2 separate regions of the Homo sapiens genome follow, and region 2 is linked to region 1. Evidence: promoter capture Hi-C in 16 types of primary human blood cells and fetal thymus (Javierre and others, 2016). All regions are on one chromosome and are shown on one strand. The core of a region is centred on a gene start or on the middle of the fragment in contact, and the rest is flanking DNA. Distances in the headings are between cores, read along the strand shown. Region 1 holds the start of TXNDC16 (thioredoxin domain containing 16). Region 2 overlaps SOS2 (SOS Ras/Rho guanine nucleotide exchange factor 2).

Region 1 (5,931 bases), core at 3,432-5,931:
AAATATGTAAAATATTCCTTCTTATCCTCAAGGAATTTCTATTTTAGGTGGTAGAAATGTGATTTCAACTTTTGTGGGAAATCAAAGAACAGAACAAAATCAAATGAACCTGTAAGTTGACTTGCATGTTATTTGAAGTATTACCAATATAAGAATATATCTACTGGTAGGGACAATAATAGCATCCATAAATGTAAGAGTTAAGATTTTGAATTTAATTTTCCTATCTGTTTTGGCATTGTAATTAAGTCACTGTACTTTATCCTGATTAAGCAACTGGCACTCCTAAGACCAAACTGAAAGTAAGAACTTCAATATGTTGAAGATGAACTCATTGATTTTGGCATGCATCACAACACTCCAAGATGGTATACCATCAACTCTCATTAAAAAAAAAAATTTAGATTCAGGAGGTTCATGTGCAGGTTTCTTACATGGATATATTGTGTGATGCTGTCAATTCTCCTTTTAAGTCCTTCAATATGTTCTAATGGTAGATAGAATCAGTTTTATCAGATAGTCTGTTTCAAATATTGAAGTCTTCTCCGGTAAAACTCCAGGAGTGTGAACCCTTCTCTGGAAAAGCTCTTGTCCTACTGATCCTGCCAGAAGTTCAAAATGTGTTTTTAGATTAGTGTACAAGGTGGCTTTTCTTTTTTTTTTCCCCCTCTCTCTCAACTATAGGCTTCCAGGAGGTTAAGTATGAGACACTGAGAAGCTTAACTGTTTAAGAAAGGGCTACTTTCCCTCATCTCAATTCCATTCAAGTGTAGACACCAAGAAAAAAAAAAAAAGAAAAAAGGGGTTGAGGCATTTCTTAACTTTTCAAAAACATGAGTTTTAGAATATCCACCAAAATGTATTCAAAGTAGTAGAGTTTGTTTTACTTTTTATACTGATCCACGATTCTTTATAACTAAGTCCTTAAAGCTACTCTTAGTGAGAATCAGAAAAAAACAAATGCTTTAAACAAGTGAAAAGTAATATGGAATTGGTATTTAATACGGCATACAGCAAAGACAGAGTGAGTTGGTAATCAAGACACACGACTATTCAAAAAAGTTATAGGGGCTTTTGGTTAAAAAAATTAAACATCAGTTAAGTCTTATATTTATCACCACATAGGCTTTCCCTACCACTTTGCTATAATATGAAGAACTCACTAGGAAAAACTTCATTAATTCAGAATGATCAATGGGAAGTATACTTGCAGTTATCTGGAACTGACATAAAAATTTGAACTAAAATACTCTCTTAAATACAGGTTCCTGGAGATTTTCTCTAATGAAAAGAGAAATGATTTCTGGTTAAGATATCTCCTTTCAAACAGGCTTTCAAAAAATTGACAATTTGTTCTCTTAAGTACAACTGTGTCCTAAAATTGTTAATTTCATTATAAAAAGAAAGGATAGACAAACAACTCACACTCTTTTTAGCAGGCATTACAAAGGAAAAAAGCTTTATCCCAGCTTCTTTCCAAATTGTATTTTTCAGGTTAATAGAGTTTTATCGTTTTTAAAAAAGCATATTACACAAACATTTAACAGGAAGACTTTCAGATTTTAAATTCTTCCTCACTAGCTTGGAATATTAGCTCAAAGTCTGAAGACCCAATCTAGATACTCCGTGTATTCTATGCTATATAAGCATACCTTCAGAATTTTGAGCTTAAATATATCTCCTTTTTTGGATAGTGTTTACCCACTTTGTGCTTACCTGGGGGAGCTACTGACTGGGAGAGGGTAAAAAGGGAAACTTCTGGGACACGGAAAATGCTTTATATCTTAATCTGGGTGGTGGTAACATGGGTGTATACAGATATAAAATTTCATCTAGGTGTGCATTTAAGATTGTGGACTTTATTGTATATGTTATACCTCAAGAAGTAAAAAGAGTGTTTACCCACTTTATGAAATGCCTACCAACTATTTTACAGTGAATCATTCATATTATTTTGTAAATCAAAATATATAGGGAAAAAACAAGTCATCTGATGCCCCTGGCATAAAAATCGCTAGTCACTTTCAGGTAAACATCTGAACCTGGAGTAAAAGCTTCAGCGTTGAGAAGTCACTAACGCACTATCTGAAATGGTGGCAGGAAGATTACAATGTATCAGTTTAAGTATAAAGGGTAGAAGTGTTATAACAGCTTAAACGACAACTAGATTAGAACACCCTCAAATAAGTGACACGACTATGGCATCATTTGATTTGTGATAACCTATGCTTCTTATTTCCGCTTACTGGTTTGCGTTTTTGTCATTGTATTGTTTGGACTTTCAAAGGATGGAGAAGGAAAATAATAAAAGTTAAATTAGTTTTGTTGTTTTCAACTATTGTTTTTAGTGTGCTAAATAGCTGACATTATGACTGATTATAAAATTATGCATTCTACTTCCTATTAAAGGAGAAAAGAGTTGGTTTATGCAGGAAATATAAACACTTAATATACGTCATTTTTTTTTTTTTTACTTTTGCTTGGAACTACATTAATTCCATCACCTCCAAAAAAGCCTTTGAGAGGATTAGCTGCATAGGCCAATATTATTCTATATTAGTCTGTATTAAGCATATGATGTCACCTTGCTTCCTCCCCTCCTCAAGCTTTTCTTTTGGTGGGAAGGAGGACTTTTTTGGGGGAAAGTCTTAAAATATTATGGCTTAAATACCACAAGCTGACACACATGATTGACAACCTTACACTCCCAAACCTGTTTGAAATGGGTCAAATACCTAAGCGCTGCAGAACAATGCAATCCAACCAGCAATTCCCCATAAAAGAGAAAGGGGGTGTGATTAGGTTCCAGATATTAAGCAAGTTATTGCAAAAACAGTTTGGTGGTTTTGTTTCTGCAATAGGCACAGGTTAAGCTAGTATTTTTTTCTCTTAATTAGCTCCAAAAAAGACTATGCTAATAGGAGGTAGGATAAACCGCTAAAGCACGAAGCAACTGGGGCAAACATTAAGGGCTTTATGGAGGTCCTTATCCTGATCCTCAGCATTGGTTATTGATCATCAACCCTGCTGGGGAACTATCGAACGAAATTTATGTGAGGCTTATCGAGCCACAGGAAAGGAGATGCAGGAGGGAATATAAGCTTCTAATAAAAGAAACGCAGCAACAATAGCAGAGGAACAGCTCTGCCTGGTGACGTAATGGCTGGCAGCAGTCCAGCTTCAGCAGAGCTGCTGCTACCTCAGCATCCAACCTCCCTCAACACAGTCCGGCTTCGGCAGAGCCACCGGGGCTGCTACTTCTTGCGATGCCACTTTGTTGGTGCCACCAACGCCTTACCTCGGAGGGCCAGAACACCGAACAAAGGGTTCGTTCCGTTGCTGTTTTAAGTTGTCAGACACACACACTCACTCACTCACCCCCTAGCCCGAACCCCTCAGTAATCAAGCCAATCAGCCACTTAAGTTTAAGGCGAAAACACTGGCTCACACTCCAGGTGTGCCTCAGTTTCCCCAGGCTGGTTTCCAGTCCGCCTCTCGCTGCCCACCCCCCGCCCCCGCTGGTCCTCAGCGGGAGTTGATCCCGGCGGCCCCGCGCACCCGCCCGGGCCCCGCATGCCGGCCCTCCCGCCTTACCTCCGCCAGGTAGAGGTTGAGGAGACAGAGCGTGGAGAACTGGAGACAGGAGGGGAAGCAGTAGAGCAGCCAGTGGGGGAAGAAGTGCAGGTGAGCGGGCGGCCGGAGCAAGGGCAGGGAGCCGCTGAGCGAGAAGGCGGCGGAGAAGAGGGTGGTCCTGAGCGCTGCCCACAGGAGACAGAGGAAGAGGCAGAGGCTCTGGTAACTCAGCCGCCGCTCGCGGTACAGGAGCAGCCGCCACAGCTGCAGGTAGGCAAAGGCGAACAGCGCGGCGTAGAGCAGGGCGTGCAGGACGCTCAGCGCCAACTGCACGGAGCCCGGCACCGCGGCGCCTGAGGCTGCAGCGACGGCGCCTCCGCCTCCGCTGCCCCCGCCGGGCGTGGAGGGCTCGCGGCCGGCTGCGGGGGCGGCAGCGGCCGCCGGACCCGGCACGGACACCCTCATGAGGGGGCTGGGGGCCGGGCGAGCGAGCGCGGGAAGGAAGGGGCTGGACTCGGAGCCGCCGTCGAAGGGGAGAAGGACTGCCCCCTTACCCCCCACCCACCCCAGCCTCTAACCCCAGGAAGCGCCGTGACGGGACCCGGAGTCCAGCGCAAAGCAGCCGCGGCTCCCCCGGACCCCGCCTCCTCTTTCCCCCCACCCCCCGGGGGTCTCGGCTCCTCCTGCTGCGGCTCGGCTCCGTAGCTGCAAAAAACAACTCTCGGCTGGAGACAATCAGCTGAGAAACCCGAGCATTTGAGGCGCTCGCTCCGCACTGTGGGCTCGCGCCGATTGGCCCAGGCAGGCACGCCCCCTGAGCGCCGCGCTCGGAAGGCCACGGGCCGCAGGACCCGTCGCTCGAGGGCCCCGAGATCTGATTGGGCGCGTAATTTCCCTACTTTCTCCCGCCCCTGTACTTCCCACCCACGCTGCTGATTGGCCCTGCTACTGCACCGCCCGTTCGCGCCGGCGGGAGGACTCTGTAATCGTCTGTCACTCTCGCTCCGCCCACCACGTTTCCCATTGGTTAGAGAGTGCCTCGCGTAGGGAGCACGAGGAGAAGGAGGAGCTTCGCAGGTTGTTTTTTCCCAGGAGGCCGACTCCGCCGAGTCGGTGGCGGCTGCAGGCTGGGAGGGAGAAGTGCTACGCCTTTGCAGGTTGGCGAAGTGGTTCCAGGCTACCCGGCTAGTCTGGCACGGCCCCGTCTTCTGCCTCCTCCTCCGTCGCGTGGCGGCGGGAACTGTTGGCCGCGCGGCCTCGGGAACGGCCCAGGTCCCCGCCCGCAGGTCCCGGGCAGGTAGGTGACAGCGCTGGCCCTTCAGGCTGTGGGCTCTGCCTGCAGACCCGGGGATTCAGACGAAGCAGCTTTCTGTAGCCAGGGCTGCACTGCACAGCTCCGGAGTCTGACTTAAGACACCCGTCTCTGGGGCACCGAAGGGCCTCACCTGGAGCCTCCTGAGGGCATTTTGCTTTCTCTTTTCGCTGCATGAACGGCGGGAAACACCGGAGCCCTTTGTGGGTCGAGGGGATGGAAAGGGGCGACGGGGAGAATCGGAGCTCTTAAGTGAAAGACCCTTTCCTCCCAAGGCCAAGGGAAATGTCTCTTAAGGAAGAGTAGTAGTAGTATCAGATGGATGTTGAAGCGATCTGTGAGCAGGGGGAAGCTGGTTCTTTCAAACGTAGAATTTGGGAAGATGCTCTGGGCTTAAGTTTTGGGAAAAAGGCAGAAACAGACTTGTAAGTATGATGATTGCCTGGAGAGGAAGTAGAATATTCTGTACTGTTTAAATTCCACATGTATCGAAGCCTTGGACCTGTGTATGGTAGATGGTGGCGCTATTCCTGGGCCTGAGAGAGAAAATACATGCTGTGTTACTGCTGTGAAGAACCGAGGAATAATCAGATCGACTAACGTATATTGGGCCGGCACATAGTTGTTGACTTTTTTTTTTCCTATTTGGAAATAAGATTAGCAAGTAGTGCAAAATTAAAAGGAAATAATTTGTTTTCTTTAGAATACACAGCACATTACGAATTCAGTATCCTTGTGAAAGACATTGCTACGTTTATTGGAGCAACAAAGACCCAGCTTTTCTTACCTCACCATCCTTTGTCCTATGCTTTTTTTTTTTTTTTTCCTTTTTTTCATGCAGGGTCTCGCTCTGTCGCCCAGGCTGTAGTGACAGTTCACTACAAACCTCCACCTCCTGGGCACAAGCAGTCCTCCCACCTCAGCCTCCCAAGTAGCTGGGACTACAGGCACTGGAGCCACCATGCCCGGCTGATTTTTTTTTTTTTTTTGGTAGAGACGAGGTTTCACTATATTGTCCAGGCTGGCCTTTGTCATATGCTTTGCCC
Region 2 (5,832 bases), core at 1,015-3,514, 2.3 Mb after region 1:
GTAGTCCCAGCTACTCGGGAGGCTGAGGCAGGAGAATGGTATGAACCCAGAAGGTGGAGCTTGCAGTTGAGCCGAGATCGCGCCACTGCACTCCAGCATGGGCGATGGAGTAAGACTCTGTCTCAAAAAAAAAAAATACCAAAATTAGCCAAGTGTGGTGGTGCATGCCTGTGATCCCAGCTACTCGGGAGGCTGAGGCAGAGAATCTCTTGAACATGGGAGGCAGAGGTTAGAGTGGGCTGAGATCGCACCACTGCACTCCAGCCTGGGCGACAGAGCGAGACTCTGTCTCAAAAAAAAAAAAAAAGAAAGAAAGAAAGAAAAAGAAACACAGAGATAGACAAATAGGTTTATGGAAAAATAATTTTGGGAATAGAAATGTGGTGTTCTTTAGCTTTTTGCTTGTTCTTAAACTTTTAAAATAGAACCTCACCTAGATCATTTAAAAACAGAGAGCTACAAAGCAGAGTGAAATGACACTACTAATGGATAATGCATGGATTGTTAACATTACTGCTAAATTATGTATCTTCCCTAAAAGAGCCTAGAACATAATTGCCTTCACCACTGCTCCCCAAGATCATTGAAGCTATTGTGTTACTTGGGGAAAAAAGAGCATGGTGTATATTTGTAAATGCAGTTTATTACCTGTGTCGTTGAAATCCCTTGGTACTATATGCATGTGTTATTTGATTATATGTTGAGATAAATCAGCATTCTTCATATGGGAAATATGCCTCAAAATCATTTTATCAGATTTTACAGTCCCTGATATTTATTTTGTAGATGTCTTTTCTGTAAGGTGTTTTTCACCAGGCTAGCCATAGAAAAGAACATGGCTGTTTTCTTGCCAGCTGTAGTTAAAAATGTCAGAGAAAGCTAGAAAGAATTGGTTGAATTACTTTGTTCCTGAGTCCAATTAGATTCAGGTTAAATATCGACCTCCCCACCCTGTGACAATTTGCTCTTAGATATCTAAAAGGCAAGAGGTGTGAGAGAATGTCTGGGTTAATTAATAGCAGTCTACGGCAAGGAAAAAGATCGGTAGGGGCTTTGATTTAAAAATGGTTTTGTGAAGTTCTACTGAGATCCTAGTGTTTCTGCGTTTGTACAAATGTCTCTTGGAAGTTTGTTTTAGAAGATGGCACTGGATCTTTCCTGAGGCCCACAAGAAAAGTACAGGGTGATCTGAGAAAATATAACTGGTGTCATTGATATATGAGAGTCAAAGAAGACTTTAAGCAAGCAACATTTGTGCTTCTTTCTGGATTATATATTCAAATATAGTAATATTACTGTCTCCAGGCTGGTCTTGAACTCCTGGGCTCAAGCGATCCTCCCACCTTGGCCTCCAAAAATGCTGGGATTACAGGTGTAAGCTACGTCGCCTGGCTGCAGACACTGTTCTTGATACGGAAGATGTAGCAGAGCCCCTGCTGTTATAAAGCTTGTGTTCTAAGTGGCTGTGGCAGAGAGACAGACAATAAGGAAGTAAACAATTATCTGAAAGATCAGTAGAATTAACAAGAAAAAAAAAGGGCGGGGGGGAAGGATTTGAGGCTGAGGGGAAAGTAAGAACATGATTTGTTTGTTTGTTTGTTTTGAATAGGTCTCAGATTCTGAATTTAATGACTTATTTTAAAAAACAAGAAGAATAAGTGGATGAAGCTAGTATGGTAGACTGTAGGTACACTGAGTTAAGGTCTCTGCCTGAGAATAGGAAGTCCTGTTGGGTTCTCATTTACATAGCAAAGTAATTAGATTAACTTGATCAGAATTGCTTTTTGAAAAGATTACTTCAAGTCAAAGCCAAAAACTAATAAGAGATCCTGTGATTTTTGTGACATGAGCCTGTTCTGGAATTCCTAAAGCCGCTGAATGTAACAGTAGAACTCGAGGGAGTCATTTGGAATTATTCCAAACTAATAATGACCCAAACTGACCCGAAGAGTTCAGCCAGAACTAGATGAGCGGTAGGAATGTACTTTAACTTGCTGTACTTGGCTCCCTGTCAGCAATGATTAAGTAGCCTTCTATTTTTGGTTTAATTTTGGTATGGTATATTTGGAGCAATAATATTCCATTAAAGTGTTTTATGCTGAGTATTCAAAGCATTACCTGTGTTACCCCTTGACATAAATCAACTATATGTCTTTTGTATTAACCATGGACTCTCTTTCAAGGGAACAGTAATTTGATTATATCCTGCATATTTGAATCAAAAGGAATTTTAATGTAACTAGTGGATTTAGCATTATCTCATGTTAAAAATTAACAACCAAAAATTATTTTCTTCCATGGGCCAGGTGCAGTAGCTCATGCCTGTAATCCTAGTACTTTGGGAGGCTGAGATGGGAGGATTGCTTGAGGCCAGGAGTTCAAGACCAACCTGGCCAACATAGCGAGACCCCATGTCCATAAAAAATTATTTTCTTCTTTTACATAAGAATATATGCTAGTACAAAGTTTTTTCAAATGGATAAAGTATTACACATTCACATTTTAACATGTAGAAGTGAAGCAACAAGATGAAAATAATACCAAGATCTAGATATAAGGACTAGTATTAGCTCTTCTAAGTAAAGTTTTCTGTACTCCAGTTTTCTTCCTCATTAGGTCATTTTGTAAACTCAAACACTATTTCTCTCTCTCTCTCTTTTTTTTTTTTTTTGACAGGGTTTTGCTCTGCTACGCAGGCTGGAGTACAGTGGCATGATCATAGCTCACTGCAGCCTCCAACTCCTGGGCTCAAATGATCCTCCCACTATAGCCTCCTGAGTAGCTGGGACTACAGGCATGTGCCACTACACCCAGCTAATTTTCTTATTTTTTTTGTGGAGACAAGGTCTTGCTATGTCCTCTGGCTGGTCTCAAATTCCTGGACTCAAGTGATCCTCCAGCCTTGGCCTCCCAAAGTTCTGGGATTACAGGAGTGAGCCACCTGCCTGCCAAAAACTACTTCTTACATACAAAGTATATTATAGTTCTTTCTTAACTGACCTATTAGCAGCATTTGACAGTTGATCTCTTCTTTTTTTGAAATCCTTTCTTCATTTGGCTTCCAGAAGAATATCAAGCTTTCAGGGATTTTTTTTCTCTGAATATTCCTTCTAGTTTCCCTTCCCTTGATTCCTCCTCATCTTTCTGTGACCACATCCTTCTGACCTCCCCAGAGCCCATTTATATATATGTGTGTGTGTGTGTGTGTGTGTGTGTGTGTGTGTGTGTGTGTGTGTGTGTATATATATATTTTTTTTTTTTCCTGAGACGGAGTCTTGCTCTGTCACCCAGGCTGGAGTGCAGTGGTGCGATCTTGGCTCACTGCAACCTCTGCCTCCCAGGCTCAACCAGTTCTCCTGTCTCAGCCTCCCGAGTAGCTGGGATTACAGGCGCGCACCACCACGTCTGGTTAATTTTTTTTTTTTTATATTTTTAGTAGAAATGGGGTTTCACCATGTTGGCCAGGCTGGCCTTGAACTCCTGACCTTGTGATCTGCCCGCCTCGGCCCCCCAAGTGTTGGGATTACAGGCGTGAGCCACTGCGCCTGGCCAATTTTTAGACTTCTATTTCTATTAACACATCCTCCTTTGGAGATGCCATCCTGCCTCATTGCTTCACGTATAATCTAAATCTGATAATTACCAAATTTACATTTCTGGCTCAGACCTCTTTCTTAAACATGAATGTTCAACTCTTTTTTTGAGACAGGGTCGCACTCTGTCACCCAGGATGGAGTGCAGTGGCAAGATCACAGCTCACTATAGCCTTAACCTCCTGGGCTCAATGATCCTCCCACCTCACCCCCCTGCCGCCCCCATATAGCTGGGACTACAGGTGTGTGCCACCACACCCAGCTAATTTTTTGTTTGTTTGTTTGTTTTAGATGGAGTCTCGCTTTTTTGCCAGGCTGGGGTGTAGTGGTGCAATCTTGGCTCACTGCAACCTCCACCTCTCAGGTTCAAGTGATTCTCCTGCCTCAGCCTCCCGAGTAGCTGGGACTACAGGCGTGTGCCACCACGCCCAGGTAATTTTTTTGTATTTTTAGTAGAGACGGGGTTTCACCATGTTGGCCAGGATGGTCTCAATCTGTTGACCTCGTCACCTGCCCGCCCCGGCCTCCCAAAGTACTGGGATTACAGGGATGAGCCACCACGCCCAGCCCCAATTTTTAAAAAACTTTTTGTAGAGACAGGGTCTTACTGTGTTGCATAAACTGGTCTCCAACTCCTGGGCCCAAGCATTCCTCCTGCCTCAGCCTCCAAAGTGTTTGAGTTACAGGCATGAAGCACCACACCCGGCCAACTTTTTACTTGATATTTCCACAGAGGCATCTCAACCAACACTGTATCCTTTTCTTCCCCTGCAAACTTGTTTCTTTTGTAGTGGTTAACATATCAATAAATGGCTACTCCATCCTTCCGGTTGCTCAAACTAAAAATCTTAAGTTATTCTTGAATATTGTCTTTTTTTATACCACACATCTAATTTGTCAGCACATCCTTTTAGCTCTACCTCAAACTATATATTTAGTTACCGTTTTATACTTTTTGACTTTTACCACCTGGAACCAAGTCATCATCACCAATCTCCTGGAATATTGAAATATCTTTTCAACTGGTCTCTGATCATCTGCTCTTGTCCTATTTAGTTTCTTTTTCTCCCCAAACACAAAGAGATAAGTGAGATCATTTCACTCCTTTGTTCAAAACCCTCTCAGTGCTTCTCAGAATAAAAGTCAAAAAAGTCCTCCCAAAGGTTTACTAGGCCCTCTGCAGTCTAGGGCTGCCCCACCTCCCGCTTTTACCTCTCTGACCTCTTTAATATTGTCCCTTGTTTGTTCTGCTTCTGCCCCATACTGGCTTTCTTGTTTCTATAACGTAGACATGTTTTAGTCTTAGGACTTTTGTACTTGCTGAATTTTCTACCTGAAACACCCTTCCCTCAGATAATCACGTGGCTGGCCCTTTTACCTCCTTTAGGTCTTTATAGTCAGACATCATTTTCTTGGAGAGATTTTCTCTTACAGCCTATCTAAAACTGCTACATCCTCCTGCTTCCCAGACAGTCCCACATCAGTGTTCACAGTATTTTTTCCCATAAACCTGTATCTCCAATATAAATGATGTATCCAGTTCTCAAGCCAGAAACCTAGTCATCATTCTTCCCCTCTTTCTCATGCCAGGCTAACATGTATTCATCACTGAATCTACTTGATTCTTTCTCCTAAATTAGGAGTTTTCTAACTTTTTTTGCTGTGTATCCCCAAAAGAATTTTGAAAAACTTGCACATTTTTATGCTGACATCTAGAAATTTTCATTTTACATTTAAATAGTTGCAGTAGATGTAATTTCATATGTGTTATAAATACTGATGTTTTAAGGTAAAACAGTTGCATCAGTCTTTTAAATGTGCTGAATGGAATTTAAATACCAAAATAATTTGATATCCACCATCATTTTTTAAAAATACACATGAAAAGTGTGTCTTTAAAAGTTGGAAATTTTACATTGTCCTTTTTTTCTCTGTGAACTTTTTTCATTATATTTCCCCTGCATAATTCTAATATGATATTTTTAGATTTAAGTCTTTAATCGCACTTTTTTATTTATACTCCTTACAACAACAAAAAAGTCTACATATTGAATTTAAAAGGATTTTCCCTACAACCGTAAAGCTTTAAAACCTGTCTTTTGAACTGAATTATTATTATTATTATTATTAAAGTCTCATTCTGTCACCCAGGCTGGAGTACAGTGGCATGATCATGGCTCACTGCAGCTTCAACCTCCCAGGCTCAAGCGATCCTCCCATTTCAGCCTCCTGAGTAGCT

The links. Contacts are between HindIII fragments. The CHiCAGO score rates a contact against its expected background, and 5 or more counts as called.
Region 2: a contact is called between a fragment that was not itself captured here and the fragment with the promoter of TXNDC16 in region 1, in 1 of 17 cell types (neutrophils). The highest score is 7.3, in neutrophils.

Annotation. Positions count from the first base shown.
Region 1 is chr14:52,551,255-52,557,185 of GRCh38, reverse strand. TXNDC16 (thioredoxin domain containing 16) reads left to right here and starts at 4,681. Exons shown (of 21, transcript NM_020784.3): 1 at 4,681-4,870. GPR137C (G protein-coupled receptor 137C) reads right to left here and starts at 4,350. Exons shown (of 7, transcript NM_001099652.2): 1 at 3,595-4,350. The coding sequence starts at 4,038. RefSeq lists silencers at 3,881-4,080, 4,091-4,160. The HindIII fragment of the contact is 4,024 bases long and covers 3,104-5,931 here.
Region 2 is chr14:50,221,723-50,227,554 of GRCh38, reverse strand. The region is part of intron 1 of SOS2 (SOS Ras/Rho guanine nucleotide exchange factor 2); the gene reads left to right. Among named protein-coding and RNA genes, the nearest start is that of SOS2, 6.9 kb to the left of the region's middle. RefSeq lists an enhancer at 1,221-1,747. The HindIII fragment of the contact is 1,630 bases long and covers 1,450-3,079 here.